Linked DNA regions of Homo sapiens: regions 2 and 3 are each linked to region 1. The links are contacts of gene promoters, found by promoter capture Hi-C in blood cells and fetal thymus (Javierre and others, 2016). All regions are on one chromosome and are shown on one strand. Each heading gives the region's core, a stretch centred on a gene start or on the middle of the fragment in contact. The rest is flanking DNA. Distances are from core to core; before and after follow the strand shown.

Region 1 (2,903 bases), core at 158-2,657:
TTGAGATAAAGGAAAATAAAAATACAATGTACCAAAATGTGTAAGATGCAGCAGAAGCAGTGCTAACAGAGAATTTTATAGCTATAAATATGTGCATTATAAAAGGAAGAAAGTGGCTAGGCATGGTGGGTCATGCCTGCAATCCCAGCACTTTGACAGGCTGAGGGAGGAGAACTTCTGGAGGCCAGGAATTTGAGACCAGCCTGGGCAACAAAGCAAGACCCCATCTCCACAACTTAAGAAAAAAAAAAAAAGAAGTAGAAGAAAGTTTGCAAATCAACAACCTAACTTTATACCTCAGGAAACTAGGAGAGAAAAAAAACTACACCCAAAGCTAGCAGAAGGAGGAAAATCCTAAAGATTAGATTAAATCAGAGATAAATGAAATATAGAATATAAAAACAATAGAAAAAAATCAACAAAACTAAGAGGTGGTTTTTGAAAACACCAACAAAATTAACAAATGCTTAGCTAGATTAACTAAGGAAAAAAGATTCAACTAATAAATCAGAAATAAAAAAGAGAACATTAGAACCCATGCCATAGAAATCAAAAGGATTATAAGAAAATACCATCAACAGTTAATTATATGTCAACAAATTGGATAATTTAGAAGTGCATAAATTTCTAGAAATATACAACCTAATAAGAGTGAATCATGAAGAAGTAGAAAAAACGAACAGACTTATAACTACGAAGGAGATTAAACTGGTTCAAAAACCTCCAAACAAACAACAGCCCAGAACCGGATGACTACCAAACATTTAAGGAAGAATTAGAACCAATGTTTCTCAAAGTCATTTACAAAAATGAATATAAAAAACACTTCAAAGCTCATTATATGAGGCCAGTATTACCCTGATTTCAAAGTCAAACAAAGACATTACATGAAAAGAAAACTACAGACCAATATTTGTGATGATCAGGTTGGCTTTATTCCTGGAATGCAAGAATGATAGAACATGTGGCAGGGTGTGCTGGCTCATGCCTGTAATCCCAGCACTTTGGGAGGCTGAGACAGGAGAATCCCTTGAACCCAGGAGGCAAATGTTGCAGTGAGCTGAGGTCATGCCACTGCACTCCAGCCAGAATGACAGAATGAGATTTCATCTCAAAAAAAAAGAATAATACAACATGCAAAAATCAATGTAATACACTATAGTAATAGAATAAAGGACAAAACAGCATGATCATTTATATTGATGTAGAAAAAATGTTTAACAAAATTTAACACCTTTTATCACGAAAACACTCAGCAAACTAGGAATAGAAGGAAAATAACATAATAAAGGCCATATATGAAAAATCCACAGGTAAACTTACACTCAATGGTAAAAGATTCAAACTTTTCTTCTGGATTAGGAACAAGACAAGTATACTCTGTCTCTTCGCTTCTATTCAATATAGTATTTGAATTTCCAAGCAGACCAATTAGGAAAAAAAAATTAAGCAAGAAAAGACATCCAAAGAATAAAAGAAAAAAGTAAAATTATCTCTGCTCACAGATGACTTGATCCTATATGCATAAAATCCTAGACTCCTGCATAAAATCTAGAAAACTGTTAGATGCATATATGCATAAAATCCAGAAAACTGTTGGAACTATTAAACAAATTCTGGAAAGTTGCAGGATCCAAAATCGACACACAAAAATCAGTTGCCTTTCTATAAATTAACTATAAACAATCCAAAGGTAATTAAGAAAATAATTTAATTACAATACCATCAAAAATAGTAAAATACTTAGGAATAAACTTAGCCAGGGAAATAAAAGGCTTGTACACTGAAAACTACAAAACAGTACTGAAAGAAGTCACAAATAAATGTAAAGACATTGGTATTCATGGATTGGAAGATTTAATGTTAAGATCTCCAAAATATCAGATGTATTCCCCAAATCTGTACAACATTATGTATTAATTTGAAAAGTCAATAGAACCCAAAGCAGTCTACAAATTATATGTAATCCCTATCAAAATCTAAGCTGCATTTTTTGAAAAAAGAGAAAAATTTATCTAAATATTCATATATACTCTGACTAGACAATCTTGAAAACTAACTGAGTTGAAGGTCTCATGCTCCGTGATCTCAAAACATGTTACAAGACTACAGTAATTAAAACAGCATGACACTGGCTTAAAGAGAGACATATAGACCAATGGAATAGAATAAAGAACCCATTAAAAGAAAACTCCACATATATGGTCAAATAATATTTACAGCATTCCAGATCCGCTCAATGAGGGAAGAACATTCTCTTCAACAAACAGTGTTGGGAAACTTGGATATCCACACATGAAAGAGTGAAGTTGAAACTTTGTCTTATGCCATATACAAGAATTAACTCAAAATGGATTTAAAACTTAAATGGAAGATCTAAAACTATAAAACTCTTAGAATAAGGGGATATGGCAATTATTTTTTAATATGACACCAAAAGTACAGACAACAAAAGAAAAAATAGACAATTGGGACTACATCAAACTTTTTAAAACTTTTATGCATTAAAGGACATAACAATGTTAAAAAAAACTTGTGGATGGAAGAAAATATTAGTAAATTATATATCTGATAAAGAGTTAATATCCAGAATATATAAATAATTTCTACAACACAATATTTAAAAATAATATGATTTTAAAATGGCAAAAGGATTTGAATAGACATTTCTTTTAAAATTATATATGAATGGGCAAAAAACATAAGAAAAAATGCTCAGCATCCAAACTGGAAAGGAAATCATTAGAGAAATGTAAATCAAAACCACAATGTAATATCTCCTCACAAAAATTGAGTGGTTTACTATTAAGAAAAAGAAATATTAGATAGGATGCAGTTGATAGCAAACAGCTTAAAAGCAACGTGACCCCAGATACTAACTCAAAGCCACACAAAAAACAAAA
Region 2 (2,716 bases), core at 185-2,684, 110 kb after region 1:
AAAAGCCAGGCAACACGGTAGAGCAGCTGGATCTCTGTTCGTAGAAGCTTTCTCAGGGACTGGCCCACCGAGTGGGGGACTGCAAGTGCCCGATGAGTGAATGAATGAACACATGTGTGAATGGAATTCAAGGCACTGCAGGCTATTCTGGAGGGTACTGGCCTGTCTCTTCGACAGGTGAGGTGCAGTAGAACAGCATCCCGTATAGATGCCAGTTTCTGACCTGGTTCTGAAAAGCCAGTCACCTACCTCTGCAGAGCTGCCTGGAGGGGGCGGGGGTTGTGAGGACCCCTGAGAGCTTGGTGTGAAGGGGCTCTGCAGAGGGAGGCATGGCTAGTGTGCGCAAGGTGACCTCTCTCCTGGTCTGCAGGATGGAGAACCTGTTCATCAACCGCTTCATGCACATGTTCCAGTCTTCTTGGAATGACTTCGCCGACTTTGAGAAAATCTTTGTCAAGATCAGCAACACTATTTCTGGTGAGTGTGCCTCTGGGGGCCCAAGTGGTGCTGGGGACAGGGGATGCTGCTCTCCTGTCTGATACTTGCCGGGAAATTGACAAGGGCCTTCCTGCCTGCTGCAGCATGGGGGCCTCGCTGCCACCATGCCACCCTGGACAGCACCCCCTACACTCCACACCTTTTACCATCACTGTGGTCACCCTTGTGCCCAGAGGTTTCTCCTCCTCAGATATTCAAGCTCGAGCACCCTCAACCTCATTTCACTATCAAAAGTCTCAAAAGTATCAGAACTTTTTCTTGGCACAAATCAATCATTTGTGCTTCTGAACAGAGCAAAGGCAGAACTTGGCTTGTGTTTTAGGTATTTACACAAAAGCAACTTTGGGTTCCTTTGGACTAGGATGTGTTTGATGAGAGCACTAGCTTCATAGTGGCCAGTCATGGCATGGGAAGGACGTTAGGAAGGCAGGAATGGCTGGACAAGAAGAGGTGCTGAAATCAGGACATGGGGAACCAAACTTGGCAAACTGCCCCCAGGGACTCTCCTCCACGCCCTCCTTCTTCCATCCTGGACACTCCATGCTGGGCTGAAGGACCTGAGTGCTCCAGGAGGCTTCTGAGCCACGAAGGGCCAGCTCAGGTATGATGAGTTGGTGCCACAGCCTGACCCAGTGATGGGCAGGGGGCAGCAGTTGGAGCTGTGCCCATCCAGGGAGCACTCGGGAGAGGAGACCAAGCAGGGACTCTGCTCTTAGGTGAGGTCAGGAGGGCCATGGCCCTGGCTGCCCTCTACTCAGAGCTCAGGGTGGGCCTCGCTTTTCTCCTGGTAGAGCGGGTCATGAATCACTGGCAGGAAGACCTGATGTTTGGCTACCAGTTCCTGAATGGCTGCAACCCTGTGTTGATCCGGCGCTGCACAGAGCTGCCCGAGAAGCTCCCGGTGACCACGGAGATGGTAGAGTGCAGCCTGGAGCGGCAGCTCAGCTTGGAGCAGGAGGTCCAGGTAGGGGTTGATGGGCTGGGGAAGTGGCCAAGGTCACAGTCTGTCAGGTGGAAGCCAGTTCCTCCTGGCCAGTGCTCATAGGCCACCAAGACGCTAACTGCAGGCCCATCTGGCCTACAGCAGCCGCTTCCTTTTCCTGGCAGCAGTGTCAGCCAGGGTCCTGGGCATTATGCAGACTGTCTTGTGCAACATCAGAGGAGGAATTGCGGGGAATGTTTCTCCATGATGCTCGAGTCTGGGAACATAATGTCAATATTTTCACTATCAGTATCAATAATTACAGGAGCTACCCTTGATTAGGGGCCTGTGGTGGGACAGGCATTGTGACAGGTGCTTTACACACAAGGTCATCAGTTGTCACCCACCTTGCAAAGGGGAGAACACTGGAGAAAGAAGCAGACCTTGTGTGAGAATAAAAAAGGGGCACGAGGAGAAACCCAACAGAATGGTTGATTTTCTCGTTAGAAATGCTGCTGCCCATGCTCCTGTCGCACCCTCCTCCCCACCCTCACCTGCAGACTCAGCTGCCTCCGGCTGCAAGGCTGACCTAGTCTTGAGACAGAAGAAGTTCAAACCAACTCCACCTGGATCTGGTGGGGCTCAGCAACAGGCGCTGGCCCATCAGCCTGCCTCTTCCCCATGGATCCAGCGTGATGGGGCCTCCTGCCACCCAGGCCCTGCTGCCTATCCCCAGGTGTCCAGGTGGCCTCTGCTGCTTCCAGTCTTTTGAGCTCAGCTTACCCTGAGGCCCTAGTTGGAGAGGGATGGTTGGTGCCCTTTAGAGATAAACCTACAGCCCCAGTACCTGGCCCACCTGAATCTAGAGGGCCACCCACCCAGCTGAAGTCCCTGGGCAAGTCTCCTGCCCCAGTGCAGGCAGTGTTTCCTAACCTCCTCCTCCTCCTGCACCCAACCAGGCCCAGAACACTTCCTGGTCATGTGAACAGCTGACAGTTACAATCCCCCACACACTGAGAGAGCATCTGTGTTCCTGAGTGGACTGAATTGCTAGATGTAGTAACATTGATTTGGTGGCTATAGGTTTCAAACTTCAAGTCAGAGATCATAGAACTTTAAGCCATATAGAATCCTAGAATTGGAAGACTCTGAGCAGCCATCTCTGCACCCAGCAGCCAAGGAGTGGCCATCCTCAGCACCTGGCAGGGCATCAGCCTCCCACTGGGAGTCCCGGCCACCTCCAGGGCACGTGGGTTATGAGTCACCTTTCCTTTGAGCTGACCCACCCCTCACTGA
Region 3 (2,871 bases), core at 132-2,631, 130 kb after region 1:
AGCTGCAGCTGGACAAGACATGCCTTATCTCAAATACCTGGACACAATAGAGGGTCGGGGGCCTCAGCCAGAAATGGATCCAGGGACTCAAGCAATGCCCCAGGGTGCATGCACACTGGCTCCCTCTTTCTGTCTCTTTCACCTGTGTTGGCATCACACTCTCCTGCTGCAGACAGGCCCCCATGGGAGAGGGCACAGGAGCTCATCATAGTAGCTCCACCTCAGGTTCTCATGTGGCCATTATCTCCCAGCCGCATCTAAACAGAAAGTGCTGGGGGGCAGCTCTGGTTGGTCCTGCTTGGGCTGAATGCCCACCGTGGACCAATCTCTGGCACCCCAGCACCCAAGTCCTTCTTCAAAACCTCTGTGGCACCGACAGCCCAGCCCCCTGGGTGTATTTGCATGTGTGTGTGTGCACGTGGACACACATATGTGCCAGTGAGCTTGTGAGTGTGTCTGCATCACTCAGAAGCCGGGATCGGGATCAGGACCAGGATCCCTCCTTGTGGGTCTCTCCAGCCCTCACCTGAGCACACAACAGGCCCTCAACAGAGTTGCATGGGTCCTGGAAACTGAGGGTCACTGAGAGCAATGACTGAGGGTCGTGTGCTCAGCACTAGAGCAGACTTCACAGCCCAGGCCCGCTGGTGCTGGGGTCCCCCACACACCTGCCCACGCCTGCTGCCCTCCTGTGGCTGGGAGCGCACCCTTCCCTCTTGTACTCTGCAGCCCCACGGTTCAGTCCCTTGCATTGGATTGGGCGGGAGGCTCCTCCCTAGCACCTCTCCACCCGGCTGCCCTTGTCATTCTCTGCGTTAAACATCCCTCCCCCATCTCACAGGACAAGGGCTTGCACCTCTGCCTGCCTGGCCTCCTCGCCTCCCCTGGCACATTTCCTCAGGGATGGGTCTGGACAGCTGTGGGAGGAGCCACCCGCTCAGGGCACTCTACCTCCCACTCCAGGCCAACGCCACAGGGGGCGGTGGGCACGTGCAGATGGTGCAGAGGGCCATGAAGGACCTGACCTATGCCTCCCTGTGCTTTCCCGAGGCCATCAAGGCCCGGGGCATGGAGAGCAAAGAAGACATCCCCTACTACTTCTACCGGGACGACGGGCTCCTGGTGTGGGAAGCCATCAGGACGTGAGCGCCCGCGGGGCGGTGGTCCTGGGGGAGGAGCCGGGACCCCTGCCTGACTACCTGGGGCGGGCCTGGCCCCTCCACCGCTAGCGCTGAATGGGGACGGGGTGGGGGAGTCCCAGCGTCCGTGAGGGGGTTGCCGCCGGGCACCGCTCCGCAGACCTGGCTGGGTCGCCCACCCCGGCTGCGCCCCCTGAGCCAGGTTCACGGCCGAGGTGGTAGACATCTACTACGAGGGCGACCAGGTGGTGGAGGAGGACCCGGAGCTGCAGGACTTCGTGAACGATGTCTACGTGTACGGCATGCGGGGCCGCAAGTCCTCAGGTAGGGCCTCCGGGACGTCTCCGGACCCGGCTCCCCCGCAGTCGGCAGCGCTGGCCCCTCCGCCACCCCTCCGGGGTGTCCTGCCCAGGGTGCCCTCCGGCCTTGGGGCAGGGAATCCGGGCACGGGGTGGGCGCCGGGCCCTGGGGTCCTCAGGGACTGGGCCTCAGCCCGCCGGTGGTTCCACCCTAGGCTTCCCCAAGTCGGTCAAGAGCCGGGAGCAGCTGTCGGAGTACCTGACCGTGGTGATCTTCACCGCCTCCGCCCAGCACGCCGCGGTCAACTTCGGCCAGGTAGGCAGGGCCGGGCCCGCTGGGCAGGGCTCCCTTCTCAAGGCCGCTGCCTCCTCCCCCGCCCCGGTTCTGCACGCGTACTGCACCCTCGGACAGCCTCGGGGCCTGGCACGGGACTTGCAGGATGGATTCTGCCCGCTCAGCCAAGGGCGCTGGCCGCGGGGAAAGAGGATGGACGGACTGCAGGGCCCGCTGGAGTTGGGGGGCACGGGGAGGACGGGGCCCAGGGGGCAGCTGGGCAGCAGGGCTTCGGGGGTGCCCACGCTTGCTGGCGGTCGTCTCCGCAGTACGACTGGTGCTCCTGGATCCCCAATGCGCCCCCAACCATGCGAGCCCCGCCACCGACTGCCAAGGGCGTGGTGACCATTGAGCAGATCGTGGACACGCTGCCCGACCGCGGCCGCTCCTGCTGGCATCTGGGTGCAGTGTGGGCGCTGAGCCAGTTCCAGGAAAACGAGGTGAAGCTGGGCAGGGCGGGGCACAGCCCCAGGTCACCCCAGGTTAAGCGGTTCCTCAGCCTCAGGGCTTTGTGACTCGGGCCCCAAGGCTCACTTGGAGCAAAGGAATCCTGACTTCCAAGGCTGGAAGGGCCCAGAAGGCTGCAGCCGCCACCAGGTCCCCCGGCCTCAGCCTGGACAGAGCTCAGGGTGTGCAGGGCAGGAGAGCACACAGCCCAGGCTTTGCTCACTGTCACCAGAGGGTCGTGTGTGACGCCCCCTCCCCCCAGCTATTGACAAAGTTCTTGCACATGTGTTTTACCCTGGTACTCCAGAGGGAATGACCAAGAGTTTCCTGGGTTCCTTCCGGACACGTGCATCTCATTTAACCTAACAACTGAATCCGGTGTGTCTTCGTGGATGCACCCGCTTTGGGGTAGCTCAGTACTGCATAGAATGGCCGGACCAGTCCAACCTGCTCCAGACTGCTGGGTGTCTGAGTTGTTCCCGGCCAATGTGTTGGTCCCTCACTGGACATCCTTGTTTTTGTGGCTTTGCACATGTGTTCAGTATGACCGCACACATTCCTAGCAGACAAATTCCTTGGTCAAAGAATATTGATACTGAATTGCCCTCCACAAACTAAATTCAAAATCCCATTATCAATAGCCTATGTTTCT

What was found. The method cuts DNA at HindIII sites, captures the fragments that hold promoters and counts their contacts. A CHiCAGO score of 5 or more calls a contact.
Region 2: a fragment that was not itself captured here is called in contact with the fragment with the promoter of OR13A1 in region 1 in 6 of 17 cell types (M2 macrophages, monocytes, total B cells and 3 more); the score reaches 8.6 in M2 macrophages.
Region 3: a contact is called between a fragment that was not itself captured here and the fragment with the promoter of OR13A1 in region 1, in 8 of 17 cell types (M0 macrophages, monocytes, naive B cells and 5 more). The highest score is 7.8, in M0 macrophages.

What each region holds. Positions count from the first base shown.
Region 1 is chr10:45,314,201-45,317,103 of GRCh38, forward strand. OR13A1 (olfactory receptor family 13 subfamily A member 1) reads right to left here and starts at 1,408. Exons shown (of 4, transcript NM_001004297.3): 1 at 1,324-1,408. The HindIII fragment of the contact is 10,818 bases long and covers 1-2,903 here.
Region 2 is chr10:45,423,671-45,426,386 of GRCh38, forward strand. ALOX5 (arachidonate 5-lipoxygenase) reads left to right here. Exons shown (of 14, transcript NM_000698.5): 5 at 371-477; 6 at 1,290-1,462. Among named protein-coding and RNA genes, the nearest start is that of ALOX5, 51 kb to the left of the region's middle. RefSeq lists an enhancer at 2,197-2,697. The HindIII fragment of the contact is 2,778 bases long and covers 46-2,716 here.
Region 3 is chr10:45,442,075-45,444,945 of GRCh38, forward strand. ALOX5 (arachidonate 5-lipoxygenase) reads left to right here. Exons shown (of 14, transcript NM_000698.5): 10 at 964-1,142; 11 at 1,342-1,463; 12 at 1,654-1,754; 13 at 2,042-2,212. LOC102724323 (a long non-coding RNA gene) reads right to left here. Exons shown (of 3, transcript NR_120674.1): 3 at 2,494-2,778. Among named protein-coding and RNA genes, the nearest start is that of ALOX5, 69 kb to the left of the region's middle. RefSeq lists enhancers at 96-866, 867-1,635. The HindIII fragment of the contact is 3,018 bases long and covers 1-2,871 here.